Regions from separate parts of the Homo sapiens genome. Here region 2 is linked to region 1. The links are contacts of gene promoters, found by promoter capture Hi-C in blood cells and fetal thymus (Javierre and others, 2016). All regions are on one chromosome and are shown on one strand. Each heading gives the region's core, a stretch centred on a gene start or on the middle of the fragment in contact. The rest is flanking DNA. Distances are from core to core; before and after follow the strand shown.

Region 1 (6,022 bases), core at 1,135-3,634:
ATCCTCTGGCAGACCAAAGTTGTCGGCTCCACTCCCTAATTCTTCACCCACAACTCTCTCATGCAATGAAAATTATGCTTTGCAAAATCATTCCAAAATGTATGGGTCTGTGAATGTTTTATGCATTCCTACTGTGATTTCTGGTATTGAGGATGCTTAACAAGAGGCTAGGGCTTATTCTACATGCTACAGACAACTCGTAGACTTTTATAGGTGCTCTGAGTTAAAAGTAAAAATTCCATTATGTTTATACTCTATCTGAATTCATCTGAATGAAGGGAACCAGCTTCACAGTTTGAAAAAGAGCAAAGACTACTATAAAATACAAAAGAAGTTAAAGATCCAATAACTAATCTCAAAAGTCCATTTATAGCAAAGAAATATAAAGAAGTACCAATTTTATTCACCGTTTACAGATGACCCATCAGCTCAGCAGACAACATATTAAACCATTCACTTAATTTTATTTGCATTGAAGATACATACATGGAAGAAAATGGCTTAGACTTTGGACGCATTCAGACCCTAGTTTGACTTTAGTTCCCACCTATCAGTCACTAGCTAAGTAACTTTTAAAAAGGTATTTGCAACTCTGAGCCACAGTCCTCATACATAAACTAGGAACAATGTCAACCATGACCCAGGGTTGCTTTAAGGGGAAAAAAGTTAAGCAATATATATAGCAGTAACACTTTGGAACAAGATAGGTCTTGTTATTTAATATTCCTTCCTCTTTCCCCACTTGCCTGTGTGCAACAAACTTGTCTTTGGCTTTGAAACATGAAACTTCTCCCCTCTATCAGTACACATTTTTCAACTTGTCACAAATCTGAGACATTGAGAAATGACTGCAAAAAGATGGACCCATATAACATGAGTTTTGGATGACGGTTTTGGGAATGGAAAATTATACTACATTAACGATGAAGATGCCAATTTTCCTTTTCTTTTAGATTGTATATTGTAAGTAAAACTATCACTTTTTTTTTTAGGCCTTTAGGTTAAACGACGGGATATGGGATCAATTCCAATTGCTATTCCTGATATGCTCCTTAGCCTGTTCTTTAAGAGGGTTGATAGGTCAAAGATGGAAATAAAATTCTCAAGTCTTGGCTTAGCTGGATCCTGTCCTTAATACGCTGAGAGAGTCTAAAATGTGCTTTACACACGGAGAGACGGGGAGAGATGAAGAGAAGGTATCATAAGAAATTTCTCTAGCATAGTTGTCAGAGTACTGCAATCATTGCCATAAGGAAAAGGGAGAACGATATTAACAGAAAGGGAATCCCTTTTATATTAAGGAGGCAAGATGAGATGGAGTTGAAACTGAAAACTTTATGCTCTTTAAACCAGAAGTAACAGGCAACGTGAATCTTTCCAGGACTTGCCCTATGGTGGGGTCCACATGGGGGGTCGGGAGGTCACTAACTCCTGGTCCCATACCCAACTCACCCAGCTGGAGCTGTTCGCACGTCTGGCCGGGATTCTTTCCGATCCTGCATCTGTAAATCGCCCCGGGATTGATCACTGAAGCGTTGGCGAGCCAGTTGGCAGTGGGCGCACCCACTAGGAGCCTAAAGCGAGACACGTGCACGTGCGCTCAGACGTGAGCTGTGCTGCCCACTGAGCTCCCTGTCGCCACAGATGTGCAGTCCGCAGCAGGGCAGCTTCCCCACCTCCTCCTCCGCCCACCACCCCCGACTCGAAGCTCCAAGACCTTGCACCATAACGCACCCGGGGCGCTGCCGCCCCAAGATAAGTTAGTTTCCCTGGCAGATTTCCAGCGAGCTGGCTCTCGCAGCGTTTCCCTCCTGCCTCCTTGGGAGGGAGGAAAGTTTGAATCGGGCAGGGAATCCCTAGGGCGCCATTCTCACGCCGCTCTGAGCTGCTGAGGGCGCATCAGTCCAACTCTACTCACCATCGGTTCGCCCCGTGGCTGTGCAGCACGACCGAGTAGCCGAACAGCGTGTTGTGGGGGCCCTGGTAAAGCAGCGCGCTCTCAGTGTCCACGTTGTAGGGGCGGCCGGTCGGGACCCCCAGGCACAGCAACAGCATCACCGTCTCCCGGACGGCGGCCCTTCGGGGGCCGGGTTCGCGCCTCGCTTCCCAAGCCATGCGCTCTCGGTGGGGAACATTCAACACTAAACGGCCACTACCCCAAAGTTGCACGGGATGCGACGGTTGGCCAACGGGGAAGAACGCCCCAAGAGATGAGGCGCAGCGTGTCCGGCGCCAGCGGGCTAAAGGAAGGAGAGAGGGAAGAGGAGGGGAAGTCGGCCCACCGCGGGCGGAGCGTTCGGGCCGGCCTGGGATGCCGCGCACTCGCCCGGCCCCACTCCCGGTTTCTGCCGCCAGCCGGGAGCTTCGGGTGCTCGCGCTGCTTCTCCGGGTACGGGCCGCTGGGTGGGGTCCCGGGCGTGGTGCGGAGGCGCAGGGCCGGGCTCCGTCTCTGCCTACGCGCGGCTGCAGGGGGCGCTGGGGAACCTCGGCTGCGCAGGACTCGCGTCCTGGCCCGGGCCTCCCAGCCCGCAGAGCGCGGGATGGCTCTGGGCTCAGCAAGAGCGGACCTGATGGGGCACGGGCTTCCCCTTTTAACGGTGGTTGGGGCCTAGAAGCGGAGCTGTGTGACCCCAAACTGCGCGCCCCTCGCTGTGACCGCCCAGCCCGGCGTGGCCCAAATGCCAGCCACAAACTCGGGGAGTGGGACTGCGGCGGGGAGCCGTCCAGTTCTTTCGTTGATAGTTAAACACTGTGTCTTGTTTTTCAGGTGTAGGCAACCACTAGATAAATTATCAAGAGCCACAGATTAAAAACAAAAAACCAAACAAAAAGACTCGCCGAAGGCCCCTGGGGAACATTTTAGTGACAAAGACGTTATGGCTATTCTCTTCAAGACCCACATCTCAGCACCCTTCTATACCCACTTCCTTCCTCCCCACACTTCCTCTGCAGCCCGGGCTGCATGCGTGAGCAGGCTAGCAGCAGCCTCTCAGGCTGAACGGCAGGCGGTTTAGGCTGTGGCTGACCCCAACAGAGAGGTTGGGTTAAGGAAGCACTGTGACTTGATTCACTTTAACCGATTCGGATTGCTCCAGCTGGTAATTGATGATCCCCCCTTTTCACGCACCCACTCAGTTGCCACGGGACACACCTGCTTTTAGGGGTGTAAACCCCAGTGTGGGGTCAGGGTCCTAATGAGCCTCTGAAATGTGCCGGAGACCCACAACGCAACACACCTGAACTGGGTAGTGAGTCTCATTCTAATGCAATCCAGGTGTGCCCTGCCTTTTTTTTTTTTTTCCTTCAGCAACCAGAGAGACAGCCATAGGTGATTATTAGACTGATATTTTCAGGAGATGAAAGTCTAGTTTTTTATTGTTGCTATATGTAAAAAGAAAAGAAAAGTCTGCATCAAAGAGTGTGTCTGTGTGCTAAAACCATGCTGGAATAAATAACACATCTGACACTAATGACAGATACACAATTAAAATGCTTATTCATTTATTCAGCACATTCATGGAGCAGGCACTTGACTAGGACCACAGGATTCCACCAAGAGTAAGGCAGGACTGATACAAAGTTTCAAAAAATGTTCGCTCCAATGGTAGATAGAAAAATTTGTACTAACTAGAGAAAGATCCAGGTAAGGACACTTAAAGAGAGATTTGAAGGACCAGGAATCTTGAATCAGGCTAAGAATGGGATGAGCAATAAGGAGGGCTCCAGAGGAGCCAGGTAGAAGAACTGAGAGAGCTTGCCTGGCTAGAGTATTTAGCCACTCCACACACAGGTTGGTGTGATATGAGGCTGACTTAGGGAAGCAGGAATACATGGTGAACCTCATGAGCCAGGTTAGGAATTTTAAATCTATGTTGGGACTGACAGGAAGTTGAAGAATTTGTCTCGGTCAGCTCTGGGTTTCAGAAGTGTGAATGCAAGACTGAACACAGAAAACCTAATTTTGGAAGCCCCTGCAGCAATAAGTAGAGATAGGATAATCCCAAGGGGAAGTATTTCTCTTTCTTGAAAGAGAATGGTGCTACCATTCATGGAGAAAAAAACACTGAGAAATGAAGTTATATGCATGTATGTGTGCATGCAGATGGGGGCATGGATGGGTTAAGTTTTAGCCATGTGGAGTTTGAGATGTTTATGGAATGACAGGATATTCTAGCCAAACTCAATGCAATTATTTTCAGTCTGTCAACAGACAAAACATGAGGAATATTAACTTTCTCTTACTCTATACTGGAAAAAGTCAATACAGTGTGTGATAAATCTATTGTAAAAATGAAATGGCTTCCAGAAAGCTAACAATCAGGGCCCATGGCTGTTTCTTTCTGTAGTAGTGCTGAGTGTGTTTCTTTCTTAGTAGATCTACATGCTGATTTTAACCCAGTTCCACAATGAGCTTACAGTGTCGTTATTCTGAACTATGCAATCCTTCTTGTTTACAGCTACAAAACCTCCAGTTGAGGCCAAGGAAGTAGGTATGTTGAAGCCATTCTGACACCCTCCAGAAACTGGCAAAGCCAGATCTTCTGATCTGAACCCCTACCAGTTTCTTTCCCTCCCTTCACCAAAATCTTTTACAATGAAAGCCACTCAACACAATTCGTTTCATAGCGTAGTTTTGGTGACAAGCAGTCAGTGGAGTGGTTGGTAAGGCAGGACTTTTTTCCATAGTATGGTTATAGTTATGATTCACTACCTTTCAAGAAATAGCCACCCTACATTACCTCACGTTAGTTAGCTGAATTTCCTTCCTCCAGGGCTTGGAAAACAGCTCGCTTTTCCTAATGTTAGCAGGAATAAAGTGTGTTTCATGTTGCTTTAAAAAAAACTGAAGATACTGCTATCTCTCTGATCAATGCTTCTGAAGGCAAGTGAGGGGGTGGAGGAAGGAGAAGAGAAGGATGTTTAAGAAAGACTCATGCCTATCCCTAGCTCTCAACTCGACATAAATATTTGGGCACTCAATTATTAAATGTCATCAGATTAATATGTATATAAGTGCCCACTATATGCCAAAAAAATGCATTATGCACTAAAATTATAGTAGACAAAATACAAGTGATCTCTAACCTTGTGTAGAAAGTCCTCCCCAGTAGCGAGAATTCTAATGTGGACTCACCCTATTTTTCAGTTTTTATCAAGAGTAAGCATTTCTCCTTCTAGGAAGACTCTCTTCTCATGATACCACCTTATTAAGCTTTTTCCTGCCTTTCTATCTGGCCACTCTGAGTTTCCTCTGATGGCTCCCTTCCCTCCGCCATAAGTGCGGGAAACCCCCAGGGCTATATTCTGGAAACTCTTTCATTCTCTTTCCATCTTCCCTCTTTAGGAGATCTAACCCATTTCCTATGTCTTTAAATACCATCTAAATATAAGTCATTAACAGAATCAAAAACAGAAACGGTATACTTATTTCAATAGATGCTGAGATAGCATTTGATAAAATTCAACATTCCTTTATGATAAAAATTCTCACCAAAATGGATATAGAAGGAACATACTTCAAAATAATGAAGGCCATATATGACAAACCTACAGTCAACATCATACTGAACACAGAAAAAATGAAGGCCTTTCCTCCAAGGGCTGAAACAGACAAGGATACCCCCTCTCACCACTGTTATTCTACGTAGTACAGAAAGTCCTGGCCAGAGCTATCAGGCAAGAGGAAGAAAGGAAGGGTATCCAAATTGGAAAGGAAGAAGTCAAATTAGGTTTGTTTGCAGACTACATGATCTTATACCTAGAAAAATCTAAAGAGTCCACCTAAAAGCTGTTAGATCTGATTCAGTAAAGTTGCAGGATGCAAAATCAACATACAAAAATCAATAGCATTTATATGACAACAGTGAACAATCTGAATAAAAATCAAGAAAGCAGTTCCTTTTACAATAGCTACAAAAATGTACAATACCTAGGAATCAATTTAACTAAAAAAGTAAAATATCTATGCAAGGAAAAACTATAAATAAAACTCTGATAAAAGAAATCGAAGAGGACACAAAAA
Region 2 (6,022 bases), core at 1,834-4,333, 470 kb before region 1:
TAAATCATGCTGCTATAAAGACACATGCACACGTATGTTTATTGTAGCACTATTCACAATAGCAAAGACTTGGAACCAACCCAAATGTCCAACAATGATAGACTGGATTAAGAAAATGTGGCACATATACACCATGGAATACTATGCAGCCATAAAAAATGATGAGTTCATGTCCTTTGTGGGGACATGAATGAAGCTGGAAACCATCATTCTCAGCAAACTACTGCAAGGACAAAAAACCAAACACTGCATGTTCTCACTCATAGATGGGAATTGAACAATGAGAACACATGGACACAGGAAGGGGAACATCACACACCAGGGCCTGTTGTGGGGTGGGGGAAGGGGGGAGGGATAGCATTAGGAGACATACCTAATGTTAAATGACGAGTTACTGCATGCAGCACACCAACATGGCACATGTATACATACGTAACAAACCTGCATGTTGTGCACATGTACCCTAAAACTTAAAGTATAAAAAAAAAATTGGGGCATTTGGTTGATAGGTGTTATTACTGCTGTTATTGAACAAAGAGTTAAATAGTATTTTAATATCTATTGTTTGTAGTTTAATAGCTTATTTTTAAAGAGAAGTTTTATTTGACCTCTGATGGTAATTATCATGACCACAGAACTAGATAAGCCAAAGAGGCCTCAATCATGCCCTCTCTCCAGGGTGGTCTAGTCTTAAACAGCATTTTTTAAAGCATTGTTTTTTTAAAGTATCATAACACTTCCCTAGGAAAAGAGAGTATCACTCTATTGGGTTATATGCTGCAATTCTTTTGGACCTCATTTGTTACCTATCAAATCTAATTCAAAATCTTCATGTTGCAGTTTAAGAAACCACTAAAACACTTTAGGCAAAATAAATACTTTATTGTTTTAATATATATATATTTTAGAAATCAGCCTTTGTGTGATATTTCAAACATTTATAAGCCTTTTAGAGATTCTTTCAAAGAACACTGTTAACAACTCAACCACTTTTGATTAAAATATCACACACAAAGAAACACAATAGGAGTTGAAAAAATTATAAATGCTAGAAGAAAAATTCTAATAACATTTGGTGGTTACTTTACACATTTATTTAACACATATAAAACCAAATGGGAAACCATTTTCCTTTTTTTTCATAAAAACAAAGTTTTCACTGGTTAAAACTGAACTAAAATCATTTTATGTATGAGGAGAACAAATCTAAATTACTTCCATTTTGAAAAAACAAACACCAGCTTATTCATTTCTATTCATTCAAGTCATAGGCCCCATTATTTGGATGATACTCTATTTAGTCTAGAAGACAGAAAAAGAAACATCTCCATCTAATAAAGAAGTCTGGACAATGCAAAAAGTAAAAGTACATAGTGTTTAACATAAGGCACATTTCCAAAAGAAAAATACTACATAAGCAATGATAAAATTACATTTGTCTTGGGTAAAGCAACAAGGCTTACAGTGTAAGTACATTAAGTAGTTGTAGGTAACCTCATAAAATTCTATCCTACTGCTATTAGTAACCTCCCCAAGAATTAAGAGCAATTATATTTTTTACAACAGAACAGTTTTTCTTCTTGGAAGTGACATTAATTAACAGCAGTGGAGGGAAAAATCATTGGATGCTTCAAGCTCTGAAAAAAATGAATCAGTTATTGCACAGTAAATACCTCATAGAGGTCAGTGTTTTAAGATGTTAGTCTGAAGAAATATGTTATTTATAAGTTGGATAAGTCTGGAAGTCTTCAAGTTTTAAAATTAATTCTAATAGGGAATCAAATGAAAAATACTGACATACAAATAAATATTAGGCTTTTCAAACTGCTAGAGTTTTTGATAGTTTAGAAAAGAAATAGCAAAGTGCCTAAGTTTCTATGTACGTCTTTTTAAAATATATGGTTGAAGAAATACACATTGTACACTGTATACAGTAGCCCAGCTCAACAGCAAGTATCTTCTAAAGCACAAATAACACCTCCACCAGTGCATATCATTGATAATTCCAGTATTACACAGCTAATAGGATCCATGCCAACCTTAAAAAAGAAAAGAGAAGTCAGTTTTAAACCTCTTTCAAATACTGTTATTAAAAGCTTCTTTAAAGGAAGATGAGAATTTTATGCAAATATATATACACAGAAACATGATTATCCTGTAATCTCTATACATCTTCCTGAGAGTTAATTCTTATATCCCTGGCTTTAAAAAAAATAATTCCTATTAATTGCTTTGTGACATAATTTATTAAAATACTTTCCAATTTCCTATATCTGAAATTGTATATTATACTTTTCAAATTACATTTGTTTCTCATGTCTTATTCAATGAATATTTTTAGTTCTATTCTACTCAACTTATTCTTTCTTTTTGCATTCACCAAGAATTATTATTAATATATATTATATAAAATGAAGTTAGAGCTAAAGCAGGAGGATCGCTTGAGGCTAGGAGTTTAAGACTAGCGTGGGCAACATAGCAAGACCCCATCTCTACAAAAAAATTTTTTAATGTAATTAGAGCTACGAGATAAAATGAAAGTAATTCGTTTTACTAAGACAGACATATAAAAGAGTTTTTTGAAATAAATTATTATTAGAAATGAATCTATGGGATATGTTTCTTTAAAAGATAAAAATAATTAGGAAAGATACTTAGAAGTTGTGATTAATTCGGCCGGGCGCGGTGGCTCACGCCTGTAATCCCAGCACTTTGGGAGGCCGAGGCGGGCGGATCACGAGGTCAGGAGATCGAGACCATCCCGGCTAAAACGGTGAAACCCCGTCTCTACTAAAAAATACAAAAAATTAGCCGGGCGTAGTGGCTGGCGCCTGTAGTCCCAGCTACTTGGGAGGCTGAGGCAGGAGAATGGCGTGAACCCGGGAGGCGGAGCTTGCAGTGAGCCGAGATCCCGCCACTGCACTCCAGCCTGGGCGACAGAGCGAGACTCTGTCTCAAAAAAAAAAAAAAGGAAGTTGTGATTAATTCACAAAATCTTGTTCTTTAAAACTATACATCTGAAATACCATTATAATCAAAATAAGATTCAGGTTTGAAGGTCCAATTCCAGGATTTATTACTATAATGAAATTTCAGTAGAATGACCCAATATAAGTAATTCCTTGGAGATTTGTATTATGGGATTTGACTTACACTTCAAATAGGCTTGTGTGAAATTTTCACATTGTAAAATAACATATTACATACATTCTAAAACTCAAAATTTAACTAGAGAACCAAACCTGTATACTAACAAAACAAAGAATAAAATGCCAGTTACTATTTACATTTAGCTCAACAAAGAAACTCAGAAAAATTTACCTATAATTTCTGTTTAATGATAATCTTGCTTAGAATTAGACGCTTTACTTGAAGATACTGCTGCCAAAAGTCCACTTACAATTTCCCGTCTGATTTCCCCAACAATAGACTCTTTAATCTAGATTGGAAAAACAATAAAACAAAAATTTACCAATATGAATGGAATTCATTTTTTCCTGTTTTTGGAAAAAATACAAATAGCATTCAATTTCTTAATTTCACCTTCATGTGAATCTCCCTGCAATACAGAGAGGGAGTGGGGAATCGAGTCCATCTATCATCCAACCCAGATCAGACTCCCAAGGACTGGTCTAGAATTGTTCAGCTAACTAGATTACAAATATCACAATTCATAAGGTGAGGACATTAGAAAATGTTATTTCATAAGTTAAAAAACTTCTAGTAAATACTTTACCTCATGTCAAAAAAATAATCTGGAAGGACTTCTTAAATGTTTTTAGTATTGTCTAACTTTGTAAGGTAATCAGCAGAGACACAAGTGCTCTCATTGCTGAGAAAATCTTTTAGAGGCAAAATAGTATACAGGTATACTGCCTGTTTATGCCAACTGACAGCAAGGTATCTAAAGACATATTGTTCAACCTAACACATTTAAAATGGGAAGAAGAAATTATCATTTAGTACAATTTATTTTATAATATAAAAAACATCCTCAAAACAACCATAAACTCTAAAGAAATAACTTTTTCTTTAGTTGCATGGTATCACTGCCAGCCATCTAAGCTTTTGTTTCCAATATGCATATAGGATATGAGGATATACATCTCATTTTATTGTTGGAAAAGGCAAACAGACCTGAGGAAATGACAATTCCATCAGGATTTTCTTCTACAGGTGTCCAAACACTTACATATGCCTATCTCCACCTTTTCTCTCTAATGATACAGCATCACTTTTAAATAGCCCTTTGTGAAAGCTATAAATGTGTATTTCCTGAAATAAAGTGATAATGTGTTCCCAAATAAGCACTCAAGATACTCTCAACAAGCTTTTAAAAATTCTACATTTCCAGTTTCCTGTCAGCCAAATTGATTTATTTCCTACAATGTTCCTAAGTACATCTCAAACACATCTTAACTATAATCTTTCCAAAAATGGTCCTGTATTAGTCTATCATGCAAAATTGGTACACAATACATAGATTTATACATAGTTATTTAAAGAAACAAAACACTCCTTAGCTACCAACCATCTGTACTGGAATATATTTAAATACTATAAGCTTTTCACTTTACCTTTTATCAATATTTCTAAACTTTAAACAACATCAGAAGATTCTGAAGCACACAGCACTTCAGATTTACTTTTCAAACAAGTATGTGTTGGATACAAATATTTTAAAAACCAGAATCTCTTAGTCACAGTATATAAACAGAAATACAACATACTGAATTAGGACCACTGCAAATCTATATTCACAACAATGAGTATAGTCTTTCCAGTCCTGCTACCAATGCAATATGGCCATTTTATTATATCTCATTATTCTTCATCACTCAAAAAACAAACTAGCCAAAATGTATTCTCTTTTTTTTTTTTTTTTTTGAGATGGATTCTCACTCTGTCACCCAGGTTGGAGTGCAGCGGTACAATATCGGCTCACTGCAAGCTCCGCCTCCTGGGTTCACGCCATTCTCCTGCTTCAGCCTCCTGAGTAGCTGGGACTACAGGCACCCGCCACCACGCCCGGCTAATTTTTTGTATTTTTAGTAGAGACGGGGTTTCACCATGTTAGCCAAGATGGTCTCGATCTCCTGACCTTGTGATCCACCCGCCTTGGCCTCCCAAAGTGCTGGGATTACAGGCGTGAGCCACCGCGCCCAGTCGCCAAAATGTATTCTTGACAAACCAGGAATGTGTGCCAATCTTTTTTGGGAGTACAGGCATTATTGGAATAAAGTATAAAAGAATCCCTACCATCAAGCATGATATAATCTCAATGGACACAAAATGAATACTGTTTCATAAAATATATTTCTTATTTATTTATTTTTGTGACAGAGTCTTGCTGTGTCATCCAGAGTGGAGTGTAGGGGCGCAATCTCGGCTCACTGCAACCTCTGCCTCCCACGTTCAAGTAATTCTCCTGCCTCAGCCTCCTGCATAGCTGGGATTACCACCACACCTGGCTAATTTTTGTATTTTTAGTAGAGATGGGGTTTCACCATGTTGGCCAGGCTGGTCTCGAACTCCTGACCTCAGGTGATCCGCCCACCTCGGCCTCCCAAAGTGCTGTGATTACAGGCGTGAGCCACCACACCTCGTCGGTTTCATAAAATACTAAAGGAAAAATAATTTATTGATTCATTAATGACATAAGAACAAAAAATTTTGATAAATGAGAGACTAGTGTGGGACAAAATTCTCAGAGAATGGCAGCTTTTACATGGTATGTCACAACAAAGAAAGAACAATTTCAGATGACAGTGGAGATAGAAAACTCTGTAGCAAGACGGTCTCAAATAAGAGGGGAGTATAATGGAGCCTGACTGCCAAGACAGTTCCCTCTAGAGAGCAGAAGGGAATCAGAATAGGAAGGGTGAGGTCAGATGGAAGGTGTACTGTGAGCTCCTTCAGCGAGCAGGTCAGGTCTCATTTATCAGTGTATCTCAGCATACAGTAAGAACTCAGTAAGCGTCTGAATGAATGAATCAATGAGAGAGTGAGAAAGCACAAGGGT

Evidence for each region. Contacts are between HindIII fragments. The CHiCAGO score rates a contact against its expected background, and 5 or more counts as called.
Region 2: a fragment that was not itself captured here is called in contact with the fragment with the promoter of ITGA4 in region 1 in 2 of 17 cell types (fetal thymus and neutrophils); the score reaches 6.7 in fetal thymus.

What each region holds. Positions count from the first base shown.
Region 1 is chr2:181,453,748-181,459,769 of GRCh38, reverse strand. It overlaps ITGA4 (integrin subunit alpha 4), which reads right to left and starts at 2,384. Exons shown (of 28, transcript NM_000885.6): 1 at 1,919-2,384; 2 at 1,453-1,574. The coding sequence starts at 2,115. RefSeq lists enhancers at 1,338-1,387, 1,748-1,797, 1,858-2,047, 2,768-2,877 and a silencer at 2,198-2,587. The HindIII fragment of the contact is 9,740 bases long and covers 1-5,214 here.
Region 2 is chr2:181,925,578-181,931,599 of GRCh38, reverse strand. ITPRID2 (ITPR interacting domain containing 2) reads right to left here. Exons shown (of 18, transcript NM_001130445.3): 17 at 3,322-3,439; 18 at 862-2,039. The coding sequence ends at 3,335. Among named protein-coding and RNA genes, the nearest start is that of ITPRID2, 37 kb to the right of the region's middle. The HindIII fragment of the contact is 1,969 bases long and covers 2,099-4,067 here.